Linked DNA regions of Homo sapiens: region 2 is linked to region 1. Evidence: promoter capture Hi-C in 16 types of primary human blood cells and fetal thymus (Javierre and others, 2016). All regions are on one chromosome and are shown on one strand. The core of a region is centred on a gene start or on the middle of the fragment in contact, and the rest is flanking DNA. Distances in the headings are between cores, read along the strand shown. Region 1 holds the start of TRMT13 (tRNA methyltransferase 13). Region 2 has its middle 37 kb from the start of EXTL2.

The links. The method cuts DNA at HindIII sites, captures the fragments that hold promoters and counts their contacts. A CHiCAGO score of 5 or more calls a contact.
Region 2: a contact is called between a fragment that was not itself captured here and the fragment with the promoter of TRMT13 in region 1, in 2 of 17 cell types (monocytes and naive CD8 T cells). The highest score is 5.6, in monocytes.

Annotation. Positions count from the first base shown.
Region 1 is chr1:100,131,413-100,134,992 of GRCh38, forward strand. TRMT13 (tRNA methyltransferase 13) reads left to right here and starts at 1,751. Exons shown (of 11, transcript NM_019083.3): 1 at 1,751-1,903. The coding sequence starts at 1,757. It overlaps SASS6 (SAS-6 centriolar assembly protein), which reads right to left and starts at 1,518. Exons shown (of 17, transcript NM_194292.3): 1 at 1,338-1,518. The coding sequence starts at 1,402. RefSeq lists silencers at 1,140-1,303, 3,441-3,580 and enhancers at 1,299-1,901, 1,306-1,425, 1,436-1,965. The HindIII fragment of the contact is 8,975 bases long and covers 1,698-3,580 here.
Region 2 is chr1:100,855,833-100,859,412 of GRCh38, forward strand. No RefSeq gene overlaps it. Among named protein-coding and RNA genes, the nearest start is that of EXTL2, 37 kb to the right of the region's middle. The HindIII fragment of the contact is 6,930 bases long and covers 1-3,580 here.

The DNA of each region.
Region 1 (3,580 bases), core at 501-3,000:
AATTTTAATAATACATTGTATTTAACCCAATATACCCAAAAATATTGCCATTTAACACATAATATAAAAATTGACATATTTTACATTCTTTTTTCATAGTAAGTCTTAAAAATCCAACGTGCATTTTCATATGTAAAGCACAACAATTCAGATAAGCCCCATTTCAAATGTCTAATAACCACATGTGGCTAGTGGCTACCATACTGGACAGCATTAAAAGAATGATCAACTAAACCTACAGATCTCCATATGCAGCTGCTGGTTTTGGGACCATCTCCTTGACCGGCTTGCCATTGATTTTTGACCGAATTCTGAACTATATATACTACAGTTTGACATTACTGGCAACTCAATAAGGCAATGTCTTCATTTTTTATGTTACATTTGTACACCACTTAGTTTTCACATACGATTTCACACCTGATCCTCATTACAAACACGTGAATACGCAAAAGATTTCACACCTGATCCTCATTACAAACACGTGAATACGCATGTTATATCAGTTTTACAAATGAGGAAAGAACGTTCAGAGAAAAAAAGAGACAACCATTGAGTGTTAGAACTGAGAAAAAAAAAGTAAGTCTCCTGACCTCTGGTCAAATCTATTTACGCCCCAATAATACCACCTCCTTAATCAAAGTTGCACTTCTCTGTGCGACTGGTCTTTATTTCCTCCAGTGATTGTAAACTCCATGAAGAAAAGGACTGTTTTTCCTGACCACTGTATTCCCAGTGCCCAGTAAGGTGTTTTACAAGGAGGCAATATTTATTGAATGAATTAATGACGTTTCTGCTTTTCTCATTTTTAGTCGGTTAAATGTAATTTACTTTTTTAAAGCAACTGATGTGAAGAGCCAAAGTACGCCACCAAATTGGTAGGTTTTTAAAAGTTGAACTTTACTGCCAACATACTTCAAAAGAGAACGAGGGGGAAAGGCTCGGAGCCAAGGCCTGAGTTCTAGTCCTGACCCTGCCATGAACTGGCTGTGAGCCCTCACGTAAATTTTTTTAACTTCTCTGGGCCAGAGTTCTTATCTGTCAAAAGGGAAGAGTAGGGCTATAATCTTCACGATTCCGTGCACAGGTAGGGTTTTTGACATTAACTTGATGTGAGCCGGCTTCCTAACTCCTCACACCCTTCCTCCAGTCCCCTCTGCAACGGCCGACTTGGTGAGAGAGGTAACCACCGGGCCCTCTGGGTTCCCTATCCGCTTCCTAGGGGGGCCGACTCGACACCTAGGTGCAAGGTGGATCCCACGGGCCAGAACCGCCATCTTTCCCCATTGGCCTGACCCCAACCGCCACCCGCGGGCACTGGATGACGCGGACCTTACCTCTCCTCACAGTCTTTGCATTTCACCTGCAACGGGACTAGTTGGTGGAACAGCACTTGGCTCATGTTGGCTCGCTGCCTCGGCTGGTGTGCAGAAAAGCCCAACAGGCCCGGCCCTCGGGATTAGCCTGAGAGGTCCGGGTCCTGATAAAGTTTGAGTTTGGCGCTCGGCTTCTGCGGAGGAGGCGGGGAGGGAGAAACGAGGGGAAGGCGTAAGAGACTTGGCCCTCGCCAGCCACCATCGGATTCTTCCGGTTCTGCGGAGGATAAAGGGAAGACGGTTGTGGTAGTTCCGGGTATTAACCTGTGTGGCGCGGGGGCTGAGGCAGCCATGTTTGTTAAGGGAAGGAGACCCGAAGGAAGCTTCTAACTTTTCTTCTGGTTGCCGGATGCTGGACACCGGAAGCGAGCCCTAGAATTATGGCGACCTCCGCGACGTCGCCGCACGCGCCTGGTTTTCCAGCTGAGGGTAGATGCGGTTACTATGTGGAAAAGAAGAAACGGTTCTGCAGGATGGTGGTGGCCGCAGGGAAAAGATTTTGTGGTGAACACGCTGGAGCCGCGGAGGTGTGGTATCGCCCTACTCTCTCAAGAGTCGGAAATAAGTATCCTGGTCCTGTCGGTGCTGGAACCCGGCCCCTCCCCTCTTTGACAGCTTTCTGCTTGTGTCCCCTGGATTCTCCAGCTTTCACTTTAATAAACCCAGTTTTGCCCTCCTTGCGGAGCGATTATGAGTTCTAGTGATGAGAAATTTTTTATTTTTCTAAGTAAAGCGCCAGCAGTGACCCATTTATTTTGATCTATTTATCTCGATCTTAACTCATGGTAATGCTAGGTTTTAATTTTTACCCCAAGCTACCGCTCCGTCTTCCTGCTGGAAAGTGGTAGTTTAGAAAAAGTAGTGATTGAAGTCCCAAAGGTTTCACTAGTTGTGTTCTAATTGTTATTTCATGAAAGAGAAGCACTTCTCGTGAATGCGGTTGGAAGAAACTTTCTTTTAAAAATTTAGACTTGAGGCCCGGCGCGGTGGCTCACGCCTGTAATCCCAGCACTTTGGGAGGCCGAGGCGGGCGGATCACTTGAGGTCAGGAGCTCGAGACCAGCCTGGCCAACATGATGAAACCCTCTCTCTACTAAAAATAAGAAAATCAGCCGTGGCGCGAGCTACTAAAATTAAGAAAATCGTGGTGGTGCGAGCCTGTAACCCCAGCTACTCGGGAGGCTGAGGCAGGAGAATCGCTTGAACCCAGGAGGTGGAGGTGGCAATAATCCAAGATCACACCACTGCATTCCAGCCTGGGTGACAGCCAGACTGAATCTCAAAAAAGAAAAAAAAATTTTTTTCGACTTACAGTTTTTAAGAATGCAACTTTGCTGGAATGGGAAGGAAAGATTTTTAAATATATACGAATTGACCTTTTACAATTGAGAACAAAGCATACAATTTTGTTTGATAATTATGCATATAAATGTACTATCAAACACTTTATATTTGTATATATGTATATTACTTTAGGATATATATGAGATGGGAAAATAAAAACCAGAGGAGCAAAATGCTCATAGGAAGAGAGCATGTCCTTATAGTTCCACAGAACTATAAAGAATAAACCAAAGCGATCAGCATCAGATTTCATGCTTCTGAATGTTCAGTATTATTTGCATTATTTTATTTCTTAAGGAATTTATTCTTCTAGACAATATCCAGTGCAGATCAGTCCCCTGACCCCCTTCATCTGCCACTCTCCATCATAGTTGTAGTCTACTTCCTATTTTGTTTTGACTGGCATTTACCAAAAGTGAAGCATACTGAAACAAGGACATTCTTGTTTTGGAATATGGGAGACGTGATTTGTTGTGGGAACTCTGAATTATGCCCATAGTCTATTGACTGGTTTTGAGGGGACTGGCAAACATCCCTTGTTGAAGAATGAGAGTTATGATAGGAGAAGGATTTAGACTCCACCTTATCCAGATATATGGAAGGTGAAAACAAATAGTGATGATAGTAGAATATGAATAAATCCTTACAAGCTGATTAGTATTCCTATAGAGGAACGACATATTGTCATTAGACACTTGAAGAGAGACCGCAAAACATCAAGTGGAAACACTTTTATTGACTACTATCTCGTTTTAAATTGTGGCTATCCTCCTGAATCTGTAATTTATGATGTAACTGGATGTTGTGTTTCCATCTTTTTTTCTAAGTGTCATATATAGCTGTGATGACACCACTCATTT
Region 2 (3,580 bases), core at 600-3,099, 720 kb after region 1:
AACTTCCTGGACTCAAGCAATCCTCCCACCTTAGTCTCTCTAGTAGCTGGGACTACAGGCGTGCAACACCATGTCTGGTTAATTTTTGTATTTTTTGTAGAGATGGGGTTTCACCATGTTGCTCAGGCTGGTCTCGAACTCCTGGACTCAAGTGATCCACCTTCCTTGGCCTCCCAAAGTTCTGGGATTGCAAGCATGAGCCACCACAATCGGCCTCTTCAAAGAGTATTATGGCTTGAGGTCTTACATTTAAATCTTTCATCCATCTCAAATTTATTTTTGTATATGGTGACAGGTAGGGGTCCAGTTTCATTCTTCAGGATATGGCTAGCTAGCTACCCCAGCACCATTTACTGAATAAGGAGTCCTTTCCCCATTGCTTATTTCTGCCAACTTTGTCAAAGATCAAATGGCTGTAGGTGTGCAGCTTTATTTCTGCGTTCTCTGCTCTGTTTCCTTGGTCTATGTGTCTATTTTTGTACCAGTACCGTGCTGTTTTGGTTACTATAGCCTTATGGTATAGTTTGAAGTCAGGTAATGTGATGCCTTCCACTTTGTTCTTTTTGCTTAGGATTGCTTTGGCTATTTAGGCTCTTTTTTGGTTCCACAGGAATTTTAGAATAGTTTTTTCTAGTTCTGTGAAAAATAATGTTTGCAGTTTGATAGGAATAGCATTGAATCTGTAAATTGCTTTGGGTAGTATGTCCATTTTAATGATATTGATTCTTCCAATCCATAAGCATGAAATGTTTTTCCATTTGTGTCATGTATGATTTCTTCTAGCAGTGTTTTGTAATTCTGATGTAGAGATCTTCTATCTCCTTGGTTGAATGTATTCCTAGGTATTTTATTTTTTTTCTGTCACTATTGTAACTGGGGATTGCATCCTCCATTTGGTTCTTAGCTTGAATGTTTTTGGTGTATAGAAATGCTACTGGTTTTTGTACATTGATTTTATATCCTGAAACTTTACTGAAAATGTTTATTATTTCCAGGAGTCTTTTGGTGGAGTCTTTAGGGTTTTCTAGGTATAGAATCATATAGTCCTTGAAGAGATATAGTTTGACTTTTTCTTTTTCTACTTATATGCCTTTTGTTTCTTTCTTTTGCCTGATTGTTCTGGCTGTCCATTCCAATACTGTGTTGAACAGGAGGGGCGAGAGTGGTCATCCTTGTCTTATTCCATTTCTTAAAAGGAAATCCTTTCAGTTTTTGCCCATTTGGTATGATGTTGGCTGTGGGTTGTCATAAATGGCTCTTATTATTTTGAGTTATATTCCTTCAATGCCTAGTTTGTTGAAGGTTTTCATCATGAAGAAATGTTGGATTTTATCAAAAGTTTTTTCCATGTCTATTGAGATGATCATATGGTTGGATTTAATTCTGTTTATGTGGTGAATCACATTGATTGATTTGCATTTGTTGAAGCAACCTTGTATCTCAGGAATGAAGCCTACTTGATCATGGTGAATTAACTATTTAACGAGCTGTTGGATTGGTTTGCTAGTATTTTGCTGAGGATATTTGCATCTATGTTCATCAGGGATATTGGCTTGTAGTTTTCTTTTTTTGTTGTTTCTTTGCCAGGTTTTGGTATCAGATTGATGCTGGTTTGTAGAATGAATTATAGAGGAGTCCTTCCTCACTTTTTTGGAATAGTTTCAACTGAGTTAGTTGTGACTATCTTATTATTATTATTATTACTATTGAGATAGGGTCTCACTCTGTCACCCAAGCTGGAGTGCAGTGGCAGAATCAAGGCCTACTGTAGCCTTGACTTCCTGGGCTCAAGTCATCCTTCCACCTCAGCCTCCTTAGTAGCTGGGACTACAGGCACACCCCACCATGTCTGGCTAATTTTTTTTATTTTTGGTAAAGACGGGGTCTCACTATGTTGCCCAGACTGGTCTTGAACTCCTGGGCTCAATCAATCCTCCTGACTTGGACTCCCAAAGGGCTGGATTATAGGTGTGAGCCACTGAACCCAACCTGTTCTGTCTATTTTAAGTCTTTTCAAAGAACCAACTTTTAACATTATAGATTCTATTTATTGTACTTCTGTTTTTGAGACCATGAATTTTGCTCTTAACTTTATCATATTCTTCCTTACAATTTATTTTGTCTTGTTCCTTTTTTTTTTTTTTGAGATGAAGTCTCGCTCTGTTGCCTAGGTTGGAGTGCAGTGGTGTGATCTTGGCTCACTGCAAGCTCCACCTCCCAGGTTCATACCATTCTCCTGCCTCAGCCTCCTGAGTCGCTGGGACTACAGGCACCCACCACCACGCCCGGCTAATTTTTTGTACTTTTAGTACAGATGGGGTTTCACTGTGTTAGCCAGGATGGTCTTGATCTCCTGACCTTGTGGTCCACCCGCCTCAGCCTCCCAAAGTGCTGGGATTACAGGCGTAAGCCACCGCGCCCGGCCCTTTTGCAGACTTTTGAAGTTGCATGCACAACTTACTCATTCTTTCTTAACACAAACATTTAAGGCTATTTTTCTCTAAAAACTGCTTTTGCTAAGTCCTTTATGCTTTGATATGTAATCTGAGGGAAGATACGCATTCCAGGCAGAGAGAACAGCCAAGACTGGAGAAAGGTGTATGCCTGAAATGTTTAAAGAACAGTCCAGAGCTGATGTGGCAGAGGAAGATAAGTGAGGCACACAGTGGCAGGTCATGGGGTCAGGAGAGAAGATGAGACCAGATCACTTAGGGACATGTAGGTCACCCTAAGAACTTTGGCTTTTGAGTGAAACAAAAAGCCATTGGAGAGCCATGAGAAGAATTGTAATATGTCCATCTTATCTTCTTAGAAGTGCCCTCTATTAAGGCCAGGGTCAGGAGTTTGGTGAGAGAAACTCAAGAATGCTAGATTCATTTAGTTTCATTTGCTGCCTTTAGTAAGCGATTACTAGGTGTTAGACACTGTGCTAGCTACTTTTCAAACATTTTATTTTAATTTTCAACAGCTCAATGAGAAAGCTATAACAATAACAAACAATAATAACAGCAATAGGAATAGTTGGCATTTATTGACTAGTTACAACGTGCCAGGCACTATTTTATGCACTTTCATCACTTAATCCATGCCCAAACCAATGAAATAGATAAAACTATTGTCCCCATTTTATAAATGAGGAAACTGAGGAATAGAGAGACTAAATCACTTGTCCAAGGTCACCTGGCTAAACTCAGGCAGTCTGGCTGCAGAGCTTTACCTCTTAACCAATATACAATACTGCCTCCCTTGCAGTAAGCTGTACTTTGAGGATGAAGAATGTTGGGCTTAGTGAAGTTACAGAACTTGCCAAGGTCACATCCTAGTAAGTGATAGCTATGGATTTTGAACCCAAGTTCATCTGACTCCTGATCCTGATTCCCTGGTGGCAGATGCTATCAGCTGATAGCCTCTCTGAAAATCCTGTTGGACATGAAAGTTCACAGTGAGAGAGGGTAGGCAACATCATCTTAGAAGAGAATGGCCAAATTATTCTGTAGGCCATGTATTTTCTCCTTTTGCTCCATTCTACCTTTCAGATGGAACTATTTTACTCTGTGTAACACTTGAGTGCTTGTTTCCT